Linked DNA regions of Homo sapiens: all the other regions are linked to region 1. Evidence: promoter capture Hi-C in human tissues and cell types (Jung and others, 2019). All regions are on one chromosome and are shown on one strand. Each heading gives the region's core, a stretch centred on a gene start or on the middle of the fragment in contact. The rest is flanking DNA. Distances are from core to core; before and after follow the strand shown. Region 1 holds the start of KMT2A (lysine methyltransferase 2A). Region 2 holds the start of CBL (Cbl proto-oncogene). Region 3 has its middle 13 kb from the start of DSCAML1.

Region 1 (4,962 bases), core at 946-3,445:
CCCTCCCCTTCTTCCCAGGATCTTTCCGTAAATCTAAAGGGGTGCGGGGCACAATAGGGGACAAGGGGTTTGCCCAGGATATTTTGTGTGCACCAACGGCAGAGCACGCAGGAAACGGCTGGTTGTTATCTTTCCCTTTCTGTTTCAATCAAGAGCACTCCAGAGCAGCAACCCCCTACCCCCCTTCGCTTCAGCCCCTAGCAGCTGCTCTTCCTCCTCCTAGCATCCCCCATGCCATCCTCCCCCCTCTACAATTCGAACTCCCCCCTTCTGCATCCAATGGAAAACAAATGCGCAACGCCACTGGCTGAACCTGAACTCAACTTCCCTTCCTTGGGCAACTTTCCTTTTTGCTGAAGGGGGCCGAATAATGTTTATAGAAGCAACTCCGTTCTTGCCCCAGTACTAATGGGGAAGGGGCAACGCTCTGACCCTTCATCCACCTTGGGTCCCCTTACAAGAATCAGAGACAACCCCAAGTCCTTTCTAAGGAATAACTTTGCTTGATAATCCTTTTTCTCCCATCCCAAAGCAACCACCGCCACCACACTAAAGTATAACTGTCCCTTATCTACTCTCCTCACCCCAACCTGGCTTCCCCCACCCCTTCCAAGCCCCAGGATTGGCCTAGGAAAAGGTGGATCAATAATGAAATGACGAGAAGAGAAGGGCGGGAGGGAGCTCGGGTTGGAGACTGCGTGCTCTCAGGCGCAGTGGGTGGGGTAGGAGAGCAGCTGCTTCCCCTGGGAGGATGCTGCCTCAGTCCCCCAACAAACACCTCCCCTCACAGGGGCCCCCTTCCCCAGAGCTGGAGGGAAAGCCTGCCTCCTCTCCAAGGGGAGTGGTGGAAAGCTGCTCTTCTCTAAGCCTAGGGGACAGTGGACTATTTTCCCCTCCAAGATGCCACTAATCCTTCATTCTAAAGGAGGGAAAGGGTGGAGTGAAGGTAGAGTAATTCCCGGCTACCAATAGGCTAGAAACTGTAGCCCTGTAAGACGGGGCGGGGGGGGGAAGAGACTGCTGTATGAGGAATCACCGTTATCTTCAGAGGGAAAGGAGGTGAGACCAGGCAAGGTGCAGAGGAGAGATTTTCCCCGGTGGGGTAGGGCGGGATGGGGGAGGATCGGTCTGCTTGGGGTGGGGGTAGAGGGTGGAGGTGAAGGAAGGGGGAGTGGCTGGCAGTATAGGGACCTGGCCCGGGGATGGCGCGAGGGTTCATCGGGTTTTCGAAAGCAAGGTGCTGGAAGGGACACGATCCCCAAGGGCCAGGAGAACGTGGCCCTGGATGAGGCCATCACCCGAGAGACGCCCGAGAGGAAAACTGCCCTAGGAGTAACACATCTGCCCAGAGAGGGAGGCGGGGATGTGGCGGGATCAGGTCTCTAGGAGGGAGGGAGGGAGGAATCTTGCTCGGATGAGGTAATCTGTGAAAGGGAGGAGGGGTTCAGTCCCGGGATGGGAAACCCCGGCGAGGGGGTCTGTGCCAAGGGATTTGGGGAAGGGTCAGGGGGAGGAGAGCGGGGGGCAAACGCCCTCAGCCAGATGGGCCCAAACCCCGGGGTGGGGGCGCCTGGGGGTCTGCAGCCCTGCATGGGGGTCCCAAGATGGGAGAGCCATTCGCCCCGGGTCAGGGACCCCGAGATGGTCCCAGAATTGGGATGCTCCTCAATCCCGGATGGGGGAGGGGAGGGGGCTCCGCAGAGGGTCGAGACCCCGGACCTGGGGGTTCCTCGCCCCCTTACCTCTCCGCTGCCGCCTCCCCCGCCGCTCTCCCCAAACACGGCCCGGAACCGGCGCAGGTTGGTGCCGATGGCGGCCGAGACCTGCAGCGCCGCGTCGAAGCCCGGGCCCACCCGGAGCAGGGCCGGCCCTGAAGAGGCTGAGGACGATGACGAAGACGAAGACGAGGCGGACGACGAGGAGGCTGCTGAGGCGGCGGCCGCTCCCCCTGGAACCCCAGCCCCGCTGCTTCCCGCCGCCGCCGCCGCGGCCGCCACAGCCGGGGGGGAGGGGGGCGCCCCGGGGCCGCCACCGCCGACCGGGGGCCCGGGGGGAAGCAGCAGGGCCGGGACGCGTTGCCGCGGGGCGCCCCCTAGGCCCCGGCGCCCCCCGCCGCCGCCGCCCCCGGTGGTCCCGGGTCGGGCGGGGAAGCGCCACCGACAGCTGTGCGCCATGTTCGCCCCGTGAAGTGAAGCAGCGAGAGGGAGAGGCGACAACACAGGGGGGCGGGGAGGCGGAGGGGGGGGCACGGGGCCCCGGAACCTGCCTAACCAGCTCTGCGCCGCCCGGCCGCCTGCACCCTGCCGGCCGCTATGCAGAGCGCCGGGCCGCGCCCGCCAGCCCCGCAATCTGTATAGCGGCCTCGGGCCTCCGCCTCTGACGCCTGGGCGCTGCAACTCCATCCCGAGGCCCGGGCCGCCGCCTCCTGCCCGCCCGCCGGCCCCGCAACCTGGATAACTGCATGCCCCGCCCTCCGGGAGAGGCATTGCTCGGGAAAAGGAGGGGGGAAGGAAGCCCGGGAGCCCGGAGCAGAGCGCGGGTTCCGGAGAGAGGGGGAGGGGGCGAGGACTACGCGGAGGATGGAGGCGTAGGGAGCCGGGCCGCCTGCAGCCTTGAGCGCCGAGAGGCCGATTACACACGTTCCCGGGACGCGCTGGGAATCGAACAGCCCGGGAGAGCAGCTTCCAGTATAACGCGGCGGCTGGGTCGGGGAGCAGTGAGCCTTCTCCTCCGCCCCAGGGCACGGATACAAGATGGGTTAGCCCGAATTGAACGCTTCTAGAATAAAAGAGCCCTTATTGTACTACATGCAAAACAGAAGCGCTGCCCAGTTTACTATATGCAAAACAGAAAGGCCCTCAATGAACGCACTTTAAAAAATAAAAAAGGAGCCCCTCCCATTTTCATGCTGGAGCTCTTTCCAAAAAGCACACACCGAGTGGCAGGTCTCCTGCCACCTCCTCGCTCTACTGTGCACTCGTCTGGCTTTCGTGCCCTTCTGCAGGGAGTTGGGTTGTGTTTCTCCAGCCCGGGCACTGAGGCCACGGCGTGCTCCGCTAACGACGCGGTGTTACAACGAAGCTGAAGCTGGGTGGCTAACGGGGCCTGGAGGGAAGAGGCGGGCAAAAGCGCCCCCGCCCCTTCTTCCTCCGGTCTCTGCCTGCCGCTGCATGCAAAGCAGACCCTAATGTATGCACGCAGAGGGAGGGGGGCTCGCGAGCACGTTTCTGATTAAGAGAGGGGGAGGAGGAGAGCGTTGGGCATTATGATACACTGGGTGGAAGGGGCCCGCCGGCGGCGAGCTCTGTGCGCGGGGTTAGTAAGCTGAGGGGGGAGGGGGAAAGAAGGAGGCGAGTTAGGGAGGGGAATGAATATCCACCGGGTTTACTTTATTGCGGGAAAGAGGGGAGGGCGCCTCGAGCATAGCGTTAGACGCCTGCAAGGCTGGGAAAGCCGAGAGGGTAGGGAGGGGTTTGTGTCGGGAGAACTTGCGTTGGCTGAGGCTGGGGGATCGATACACAGCCTGCAGGCCCCGGGGCAGCCTCCATCCCCCAAGCCGAGGGGGAGTTCGCTGGAAGGTCATGCAGCCTTCCTGGACTCCCGCACCGGTACAGCGCACTGCATGTAATATTACAGCCTGGGGCGGCGAATTTGGGAAGGAGGGAGAGGGTCGTTGTGAGCAGGTTGCACTCAGCTCTGGCCCTCCGGAGGGTGCACTTCACGCCTCCAGAGAAGGTCCACAGCCTCCTGGTGCTGAAAACCTACGTCCCTCCACTGGCGAAACATTTGTGCAGAGCGGACGATGGGATGGGGGCTGGAGAGGAGCAATGAAAGGGAGGAGACACAGGCAAGCCTCAACTCCCCCAACTCGTCCCGAATCGATCTTCGTTCCAACCGCGCAGGATGGGGCCCAGATGGTTTGCAAAGCGCACACTCGCACAACGCAATACACAGAACAAGATTCCGTTGTTACAGCGCGTGGTTTACTAGATGCTAAAAGGGTGGGAGTAGCAGGAGGGTCTTAAACGGCAGCCCCAAGGCTCTGCTAAGGACAGAGACACCCCATTGTGGACGGTTTCTCCATTGCAATATATTTAGCGTTGGGCGCTGGGGTTTTTGCTTCAGTGTAGCTGCTCTGATCAGTTACAGATTGGCGACCACGTGGATTCCCTCAAGCATCCTGATTTGTTCGTTCTCTCTCTCTCTCTCTCTCTTTCTCTCTCTCTCTCGTCTCTCTTATTTTTCTTTTGTATTTGCCGCCCCCCCTTCTTTAATATGCATAACGGTCTGCAGAGGTAATAGGCAGGGGACTGAATGACAGGCTTTATATAACTGTGTCAACAGATTTCTTCCCGCCTTCTACCCTTGAGAAAACATGAACCGGGTGGGTTCTGAGTAACCTCACTTCAAGCATTCTTCATTTAACACAGGTGGGAGGTCTGCAGGTTGCAAGGCAGCAGAAAGAAGGAAGAATGTCTTCGAATATTGTGTGGAGTCCCCAGACTCAAGCCTCTGAGCAGAAAAACTCCTTGAGAAATCATATAGTTTGTCTCTTTGCCTCTAGACTAGTCCAAAAGGAGCCAGAGCAAGTCAGAATTTGGTTTATTGTTGGAGATTTTAGGGCGAAAATATTAATAATAACATTTTTCAGTGCTTTCTGTGAGCCTAAGTGCTTTATGTGCACTCAATTCTCTCCAATTCTATAAGTTTGATTTTACATATGGGGAAACTGAGGCTTAGAATAATGTCTAAAGTCACACAGCTAGTAAGTAGAAGTGCTAAAACTCACTGGGGTCTGACAGCAAATATCCGTTAACCATCCTGCTGATCATAAAAAGACATTACGACTCCTGTAATCCCAGCACTTTGGGAGGCCGAGGCAGGCGGATCATGAGGTCAGGAGATCGAGACCATTCTGGCTAACACTGAAACCCCGTCTCTACTAAAAATACAAAAAATTAG
Region 2 (4,962 bases), core at 690-3,189, 770 kb before region 1:
AAGTATTTTTTCTATGCCAGAGTAAAATTTGTAGTCCTTAACGATAAATCCCTAAAAAGCAAACTAACAAACTTTAGCATTTGAATATCTTCGATGTGTTTTTTTTAAAGGAGTCGACACATTTAAAGTTTCCTTTACACACCTAAACTTTCTGTAAGGATTTTATTATAATTTCTAACAATAAAATTAGTACTACACCACCAATATAATCAACACACGAATACTTGTGTCATTAATTACAATACCAATTATTTAACATGAGAAAAGCCAGCCCTAAAAAGGTGGCTATGAAACCACTGGCATGCACTACTGGAGTGTTAATTCACACACAGGACTTATTAAGCATTTAAATTGCACATTACATTGGCTAAGTGCTTCATAATCATTTTATTAGCGGTTTCTAGTCCAAAGCAACCCATGAAGAACTTTACAGAAGAGGAACCGAGGCCCAGGGAGGAACCAAAGAAAACCAAATTTTACCCTGGAGGAAATAACACCATTCTCTTAAAACGTGCCAGATACTTCTAATCACTTTTCATACGCAATATGAATTTTGTCAAAGTAATTAATTAAAGAATATGAAAAATACCAAGAAAACGTATTGAATTCTGACAAAGCGTCCGACTGCTTAAACAGTTAAATACTTGAGACTGACTACATTTCATCATATAGACACAACTATAAGGAAGTAAAATTCTCCCAAATGACAAACTTAGTGGCTAAATATAAAGGAGTTATTTTTGTTCGCACTTGCAAAAAGCAAACAAACAAAAAAGCGTAATCAAAGAAGCTCAACGAACAAGTTTAAAGTCAGGACCTGTAATAAGGAGTCAGAACCGTTACCAGAAAAAAAGAACCCAGCTCAAGCGATGTAGTAGGGAGGAAGTTATTAAGAAGTCAGAATCTGCTGCTGCTTAACAGGCTCAGCCAGTCCATCTTTCAGAAGATAATAGTTCTAACCAGAACTTGTGGTTTAATCAGTGCATATCTCAGCACCAGCAATGGATCACATCCAGTGTTTCTGAGGGTAACAAAAAACTTGAGCCGGCGCTAGATGGGGAGGAAAGTTCTTTCCTTGCCTCACTTAAACATCAATATGTCTTTTATCTTCGTGTTACATCTTAATGAGAAAGGACTATACTCTCACCCAGAGCACAGCTTCCCTGAGAGCTGTCCTGACCCCAGCCAGGTTCCTCAGTCAGAGCCCATGAACCTAATTCCCTAGTCAGATCTCACCCAGCCAAGAGCCCCAGCCGGTACATCACTCTTCCTCACCCCCTCCCTGCTAACCTCCCAGGCCAATTCCGTGACCTACATCCCTACACCCTGCACAGAGCCCCAAACTCCGCACCCCTCATTGTACTTCCGCCCCACTGACTTCCCAGTTAACCTTCGCCCCAGCCCCCACTCCATCTTTGTCTGGCTACCCCAAACGCGGCACCCCAGCGTTCCCCGACTCCCAACGGCAGCCCCTCCCCCACGCCGCCCCCCACCCTCCCGGCCTCGTCCCTGCCCCCACGCCCCCGGCCGGTCACCCCGGCTCCGCGCCTCCCCGGCTTCACCAGACCCGTCCCCTCCCCCGCTTCCTCCGTCCGCTCGTTCCCCTCCCCGCGGCCCTCCGCCCACGCCCACCCTGCAACAGCGGGCGCTCAGCCGGCCTTTCACCTTGTCCATGAGCTTCCAGCACTTCTCCACCATCTTCTTGTCCACCGTCCCCGGCGGGTGGGGGCTGAGGTGGTGGTGGTGGTGGTGGTGCGGCTGGAAGGCGTCCTTCATGAGCCCAATCAGGCCACCCGAACCCGAGCCCCCGGAGCCGCTGCCGCCCCCGGCCCCAGAGCTCTTCTTCACGTTGCCGGCCATGGCCTGGGCAGGGTCGGAGCCCAGGCGGGTCCGCCGGCTCGGCTCGACTGCGAGCGAGGGAGAGAAGCAGGGCGTGAAGGAGGGGCCTCTCCCGGCCGCCGCCGCCGCCGCCGCCGCCGCCGCCGCCGGCTATCCGGGCGGAGGGAGGAGCGGCCGTGGGGAGGGGAGTGGGCGGCGCCGGGAGTGCGCGGGACGCGCCCCTTCAGAGCGCGCGAGCCCGGGGCGGGCGGGGCGCGTCCCGGAGGCGGACCGGCTTACTGGTAAGCTCGGGGAAGCGGCCGGCCGCGGCCGGACTGGGCAGCGACGATCCCCGGGCCACCGGCTTCGAGCAGCTCGCGTGCCCACAGCTCCCGGAAAGCCGCGGCCAGGTTTCTGTGCCCGTCTTCCCCGCCCCTACGCCGGGGCGGGGCGGGGCCAGGCTGGGGCGGGGTCGGCGGAACCTTTGGGCCTGCGCCCTCTGCTGGAGAAACGGGGAAAGGAGCGGCGGGGGGTTGGGGAGTAGGTCCAAGGTGGAGTCTGCGCAGTAGCCAGAAACCAAGACTTCCATGCTCCTTGTGGGCGGGAGGTTGGCGCTTCTGGGGTGGGTCATGGGAATGTTTAAATTAAGACAGGTGGCGATGGAATGGAAGAGTCCTGATGTCAAGTCTTTCCCCACCCCTGACAAATGAGGAAATCGAGCTTAGAGTTATTTGTTTATTTACACTGTGGGAGGATGGTGGGAGAAAAAGGAAAGTTATTTCTCCACCCCTTATTATTTTCAATTCTTCATTAAGACACGACCAAGGACAGGAATATGAATGCTGCGGCCCATTCCAGCCGGATTAGGCCCCAGAAAGCCTTGAGACACTCAAGCCAGGACCTCTTCTTCCAGGCCCTTTGACCTCTTGAAAAGAAATCACTTCCTTTTTTTATTTTTTATTTTTATTTTTTTGGCTTGTGAAGACTAGTTACGTTTCTGGGAATTGAATCTCAAACATGTATTTAAGATTCTCCTACTCAGAGCATTGCACCACAGGTCGGCGCCGCCAGCATGAGGGCCCCCTCAGAAGCTGACCTGCTGCTGGCTCCGCCCGAGGGGGTTCTCTCTCCCGCCCAGGGAACAGAAATGCTGTTCCTGGTCACTTCCACTTCTCAGTCAATTACACTTCTCTAATGTAAAAGTTCCGTTGGAAGAACTTTGAAAATAGGAACTTCCCTTCCAAAGAGGGAAGTGCCCTGCCCTAATTTACTAATTCTGAGCCTCAGTTTTGGGAGTTTGCAGACCCAGGTGTGTCAGTATCAGTTCCGCCTTCGATCCCCCTCCAGGCTCTTCCACAAAGCCCTTGACAGATTAGGGAGTTAAATTTATCCGGTGCTCCTGTAAAGGGGAAAATATCTTTGAATGCAGGGACCATTCAGACAGGCATCCTGGGTTTGCAATTTAATCGCCTTTATCTAGAATTGATTTTGGAGTCAACATTATAATTTACTATCAGAAGAATTTCCTTTTATCATTTTCCATCCAGGAAGAGAAGAATCTACAAAGGGAAAATCTAGGCAAAGCTCCATCCCTTAGTGCCAACACCTAGTTGCAGGTCCTCCGTTTCTTTTCCCTGGACTATTGAATATTGAAACCTTTTCCTGTGCCTTCAATTCATCCTGCCACCATAGGCTTCCTAAAGTATAGTTCAGACAGCATCGCAAAAAAACTTTAAACACCTCCCATTGCCTCGGGAATAAAATTGACAAGTTGCTCTAACTCCAAGCTAAACAACCTTGTAGTTTTATACTACTCCCTGGTACACATGTCTTATGCTAGCTGACTCACCAAGTCATCAAATACAATTATTTCTTTTTTATTTATTTATTTATTTTATTTTATTTTGAGACAGAGTCTGTCACCCAGGCTGGAGTGCAGTGGCACAATCTTGGCTCACTGCAACTTCTGCCCCCCGAGTAGCTGGGATTACAAGTGCCCGCCACCACACCTGACTAATTTTTGTATTTTTAGTAAAGATGAGATTTCACCATGTTGGCCAAGCTGGTCTTCAACTCCTGACCTGAGGGGATCTGCCCTCCTCAGCCTCCCAAAGTGCTGAGATCATGGGTGTGAGCCACCGCACCTGGCCAATTCTTTCTTTTCTCATCACCGTTACTCAGACTATTCCCTTATTCCATCTGCCTGAAGTATGCTTTAAAATCCAATCCATTCGGCCCAGCACAGTGGCTCACACCTGTAATCCCAGCACTTTGTGAGGCCGAGGGAGGCGGATCACCTCAGGTCAGGAGTTGGAGACCAGCTTGGCCAACATGGTGAAATCTTGTCTTTACTAAAAATAAAAAAATGAGGCCGGGCGTGGTGGCTCACGCCTGTAATCCCAGCACTTTGGGAGGCCGAGGCAGGTGGGACACGAGGTCAGGAGATCGAGACCATCCTTGGCCAACATGGTGAGACCCCATCTCTACTAAAAATACAAAAAAAATAGCTGGGTGTGGTGGCGCACGCCTGTAATCCCAGCTACTCAGGAGGCTGAGGCAGGAGAATCGCTTGAACCCAGGAGCCAGAAGTTGCAGTGAGCCCAGATTGTGCCACTGCACTCTAGGCTGAGCGACAAGAGTGAGACTCTGTCTCAAAAACATAAATAAACAAATAAATAAATAAAGTTAATAAGAAAAGGAAGATTACCCTTTTTTTTACCTTTTTTTTTTCTTTGAAACAGAGTCTCGCTCTGTCACCCAGGCTGGAGTACAGTGGTGCAATCTTGGCTCACTGCAACCTCCACTTCGGGTTCAAGCCATTCTCCTGCCTCAGCCTCCCGAGTAGCTGAGACCATGCCCAGCTAATTTTTTGTATTTTAATAGAGACAGGGTTTCACCGTGTTGCTCAGGCTGATCTCAAACTCCTGAGCTCAGGCAATCCACCCACCTCGGCCTCCCAAAGTGCTAGGACTATAGGCGTGAGCCACCGTGCCCTGCCACAATTTTTATTTCGCTTGCTTTAGAAAATGTACAAGAGAGGGGGTTGGACTGTTGATCACAATGTCATTCCCATTCTGGATTATGCTAGAGTTGGTTCATCCTGCATCACATCGTGTAACATGTAGCCTTTTTCTTATCCCACTT
Region 3 (4,962 bases), core at 914-3,413, 630 kb after region 1:
TGGGGGCTGTCTGTGAAGCCTTGTGGCAGTACAGCCCAGGTAATTTGCTGAGCCTGATGGGTGTCAGGGTCAGTCCAAGTGAAGCGAAGAGAGGCTGGGATGACGGGTGCAAAGGAATAGTAAAGAAAGCACGTTTGAGATCCAGAACAGAATAATGGATTGTGGAGGGAGGTATTGCGGATAGGAGAGTATATGGGTTTGGCACCATGGGGTGGATAGGCAAAACAATTTGGTTGATAAGGCATAGATCCTGAACTAACTTGTAAGGCTTGTCTGGTTTTAGGACAGGTAAAATGGGGGAATTGTAAGGAGAGTTTATAGGCTTTAAAAGGCCATGCTGTAGCAGGCGAGTGATAACAGGCATTAATCCTTTCAAAGCTTGCTGTGGGATGGGATATTGGCATTGAGTGGGGTAAGGGTGATTAGGTTTTAATGAGATGGTAAGGGGTGCATGATTGGTCGCCAAGGAGGGAGTAGAGGTCTCTTGTGGGTTAAGGTGGGGGAATACAAGAGGAGGACGCAAAGGAGGCTTTGGATTGGGAAGAAGGGCAGCAATGAGATGCAGCTGTAATCCAGGAATAGTCAGGGAAGCAGATAATTTGGTTAAAATATCTCGGCCTAATAAGGGAACTGGGCAGGTGGAGATAACTAAAAAAGAGTGCATAAAAGAGTGTTGTCTAAGTTGGCACCAGAGTTGGGGAGTTTTAAGAGGTTTAGAAGTCTGGCTGTCAATACGCACAGCAGTTATGGAGGCAAGGGAAACAGGCCTTTGAAAAGAAGGTAATGTGGAGTGGGTAGCCTCCGTATTGATTAAGAAGGGGATGGACTTACACTCCACTGTGAGAGTTACTTAAAGCTCGGCATCCGCGATGGTCTACGGGGCTTCCAAGGCAATCAGGCAGCCTCAGTCTTCAGCTGCTAAGCCGAGAAGGAGTCAGTCAGGGAGCCTTGGGCCAGAGTTCCAGGGGCTCTGGGAGTGGCTGCCAGGTGAGTTGAACAGTCCGATTTCCAGTGGGGTCCCGCGCAGATGGGACACGGCTTAGGAGGAATCCTGGGCTGCAGGCATTCCTTGGCCTGGTGTCCAGATTTCTAGCACTTGTAGTAAGCTCCTGGGGGAGGAGGTTCTGGAGGAACGCCTGGCCGCTGCAGTTCAGGCGTTTGGAAGTTCTTGTGTGCTGGAGATGTAGCTGGGGTTTGTCTCACAGTGGAGGTAAGGAATTGCAACTTTTTTTATTATTGTACACCTTGAAGGTGAGGTTAATTAAGTCCTGTTGTGGGGTTTGAGGGCCAGATTCTAATTTTTGGAGTTTTATTTAATGTCGGGAGCAGATTGGGTAATAAAATGTATATTGAGAATAAGATGGCCTTTTGACCTTTTAGGGTCTAGGGCTGTAAAGCTTCTCAGGGTTGCTGCCGAACGAGCCATGAACTCGGCTGGGGTTTTATATTTGATGAAAAAGAGCCTAAACGCTATCTGATTTGGGATAAAGAAAAAGGAGCATTAACCTTGACTATGCCTTTAGCTCCAGCCACCTTTTTAAGAGTAAATTGCTGGGCAGGTGGGGGAGGGCTAGTCACAGAACGAAACTGTAAGTCAGACCGGGTGTGAGGAGGAGAGGCGATAAAAAGATTACAGGGTGGAGGAGCGGAGGCTGAGGAAGAAATGGGACCTAGCTTGGTCTGGCGAGGAGGGGAGAGGTCAGATGGGTCTGTAGAAAAGGAAGATTAGAAAGACTCAGCGACGCTTGGGGTTGGGACTGAGGGGACAGGCGGGAGGGAAAGAAGGAAGATTTGGGACGAGTTGCACTGGGCACAGAGACTAGGAAGGGACTGATGTGTAAAAGAATGCGTGGACGTCAGGCACCTCAGATCATTTGCCCATTTTACGACAAGAATTATTTAGCTCTTGTAGGATGGAAAAATTGAAAGAGCTGTTTTCCGGCTATTTGGAACTACTGTCGAGTTTGTATTGGGGTCAAGCGGCATTGCAGAAGAAAATAAGACACTTTGATTTTAGGTCAGGTGAGAGTTGAAGAGGTTTTAAGTTCTTAAGGATACAGGCTAAGGGAGAAGAAGGAGGAATGGAAGGTGGAAGCTTGCCCATAGTGAAGGAGGCAAGCCTAGAGAAAAGAGTAGAGATACGGAGAAGGGGGTGGGGGTTTCTTGCCCTCCAGAAAAGCAGAGAAAGGGTTGGGGCACGGAAATAAGGGATTGGGGCACAGAGATAAGAGGTCGGGGTGCGGAAATAAGGGATTGGGACACAGAGATAAGAGGTCGGGGTGCGGAAATAAGGGATTGGGGGTTCTTGCCCCCTAGAAAAGCGGGACTTGCCACTAAGGGTGAAGGAGAAGGGGTTGAGGGGTACTTGCCCCTCCCCCAGAGGGCGCTGGAGTTTTGAGTCCACGGAGTTTTGGGTCCACGGAGTTTGGGTCCACGGAGTTTTGGGTCCACGTGTCTCCTTTGTCTCTATCAGAAAATGAAAGGAATTGAAATTAAGAGAAGGGAGAGATTGAAGTGTGGCGCCAAGATTGAAATGTGAATATGTATGTATGTGAATGTGTGTATGTGTGTGCGAATGTGTAAGTGAGTGTGTGAATGTGTGTGAGTGTGAATGTGTGTGAAAATATTTGAATATGTGTGAGTGTGGGAATGTGTGTATGTGAATGTGTGTATGAGTGTGTGTGAATGTGTGAGTGTGTGAATGTGTGTATGTGAATATGCGTGTGTGTGAATGTGTGAATGTGTGTGTGAGTGTGTGGGTGTGTGTGTGTAAGAGTATGTGAATGTGTAAGTGAGTGTGAGTGTGTATGTGACTGTGTGAGTTTGTGTGTGTTGTGCGTTGCTAGTTGAGCTGGAACTGGGGAGGAGCAGAGCAACCCAGGAGGGTTGCGTGGGTGGACCTAGCATCTGGAGCGCTGCGCGGCGATTCAGCCTCCTCAGCTGAGAATCAGAGGTCTGTTTTGGAGGACACCATTGGTCCCCTCCAGTAGTTCTTAGAGGCTGGCAAGGACACAGGCTGGGGCAGGGAGTGAGCCCAGCCTCCGGCTTCACTGCGAGACATGACTGGGGTGAAGGGCAGGACCTGTGTAGTGGAGAATTTGAGTGGCCGCCGTCTATGTTGTACTGCACAGCAGCCTGCGGCGCCACCATCCTGTCCTGTGGCACTAGGGGGAGGCAGACACCAGGTTCCCAGTGCGGAGGCCTGGAGCTTCCTTCCGCGGAGGACCGCAGAGACACATCCAGTAGTGGGCCAGGGAGGCGGGTTGTCCTCTCCAGCCATCAGAGCCACGCCCAAGGAGTCAGGCACAGCGGGGAGGAGGGCTCCCCTCCCTTCCCACAGCTCCCACCCTTCCCACACTGCACTTTCCAGGAGTGCAGACGCGGCAGCTGGCCTCCCAGGACCTGCCCCACCCTGGAGGTCTGCACTGAGCCCCTTCGCCAAATGAGGCAAGACTTCTCCTGAGCCTGGGGTCTCAGGGCAAACTCCTGAGGTCGCCTCTCCTAAATCTGAGGCATTCCCAACGGATCTGGAAGATTCATTCTCTCTGGATGGATTTTTCCTCCTCTCAAGCTTCGCAGTGGAAATGATATGAAGCAGGGGCGGGGCAGTGACGGAGCTGCTAGAGCAGGGTAGACAGGCGTGGGCGTGAGCTTGGCTCGGTCACTGACCACCTGGGCAGCCCTGGGGAAGTCCTTTAGTGTCTCGGAGCCTCAGTTTTCTCATCTGTGAGATGGGGTTTGTGATATCCAACTCATTAAAGAGATTGAACGAGATCATGTGTGTAAATGAGATATGTACGCCACAAAGTGCTGCGAACATGTAAAGTGGGTGAGGGATGAAGCAGTGTTCACCAAGGCTTCTGCTGGGCTGGGTGATTGCGTGTTTTTCAGCCATTTATTATTCAGCAAATTTTTGTTGACTATCAAGTATGTGCCAGACACTGTATTAGTGTTTTTGACAAGCTTAAGTGGATAGTGTTTATGAAACTACAGAACATAAACCTTCTAGTTTATCTTCTAGTTCAGGATTTCCCAAATGCCAGCCCCAAGACCTATGCTAAGCTTCTTACATCCAAATACTGGGAAACAGAAAATACAGATCCCGGATTCTGTAGTCTGGGATCTCTCTCTCCTTCACCTCACCTGTGCCTGTGTGCATGTGTAGTTGTGTGGTTTCGGAGCCACTGAGACCCAGAGATGGCAAATGCTCTCAGGGGATAGCATGTCGCATGCCAGGGGCTTCGGGCATGCGCCTATTATCTTTTCCAGAGGGGCAGGGACAGCCCAGCCATGGTCTCAGGACTCCTCCTAAAGGTTTGACCCATAGGAATGTGTCGGCAGATTGCCCAGAATATAGAGTCCGAAGGCCTTCTAATTCTATATTTTGTCACTTAATGGCTCTGTCATTTAGTGCCTGCATAATTTTTAGCAAGTCACTCTCTTTCTGAAGCCTCAATTTCCTCATCTGTAACATGCGGATATTGATGTCTGTCTTGCTGTGGTATCTTCATGTGAGCATACTTTGAAAACTGCAGGCCGGGCGCGGTAGCTCACGCCTGTAATCGCACCACTTTGGGAAGCCTAGGCGGGCGGATCACGAGGTCAGGAGTTCAGGACCAGCCTGGCCTACAAAGTGAAACCCCATCTCTACTAAAAATGCAAAAATTAGCTGGGTGTGGTGGCATGCACCTGTAGTCCCAGCTACTCGGGAGGCTGAGGTGGGAGAATCATTTGAACCCAGGAGGTGGAGGTTGCAGTGAGCCGAGACCACGCCTTTGCACTCTAGCCTGGGTGAAAACTGCAAAGCTCCAATTTTTAACTCCGACGAAAGCCAGAACCAGACTGAGTTTTCAAAGGAGAAACCCTTCAGGCTGAATTTTCTTCCACTTCTTCCAAGTCCAGCTGTATCTAATATTGAAAGATAATCTCCATGGAGGAGCCCCCATCCCGCCCAAAGGTTTC

The links. Contacts are between HindIII fragments. The study calls those that stand out against the background at their distance.
Region 2: the fragment with the promoter of CBL here is called in contact with the fragment with the promoter of KMT2A in region 1 in 1 of the 25 tissues and cell types used here (small bowel).
Region 3: a fragment that was not itself captured here is called in contact with the fragment with the promoter of KMT2A in region 1 in 1 of the 25 tissues and cell types used here (hippocampus).

What each region holds. Positions count from the first base shown.
Region 1 is chr11:118,433,725-118,438,686 of GRCh38, reverse strand. It overlaps KMT2A (lysine methyltransferase 2A), which reads right to left and starts at 2,195. Exons shown (of 36, transcript NM_001197104.2): 1 at 1,743-2,195. The coding sequence starts at 2,174. RefSeq lists enhancers at 229-1,226, 1,227-2,225, 2,887-3,026, 2,226-3,223 and a silencer at 2,097-2,576. The HindIII fragment of the contact is 10,858 bases long and covers 1-4,962 here.
Region 2 is chr11:119,203,316-119,208,277 of GRCh38, reverse strand. It overlaps CBL (Cbl proto-oncogene), which reads right to left and starts at 1,939. Exons shown (of 16, transcript NM_005188.4): 1 at 1,666-1,939. The coding sequence starts at 1,860. RefSeq lists silencers at 1,422-1,481, 1,672-1,861, 1,932-2,321, 2,362-2,431. The HindIII fragment of the contact is 26,271 bases long and covers 1-4,962 here.
Region 3 is chr11:117,807,692-117,812,653 of GRCh38, reverse strand. It overlaps a transcript of DSCAML1 not described here. Among named protein-coding and RNA genes, the nearest start is that of DSCAML1, 13 kb to the right of the region's middle. RefSeq lists enhancers at 3,079-3,128, 3,179-3,248. The HindIII fragment of the contact is 6,582 bases long and covers 1-4,962 here.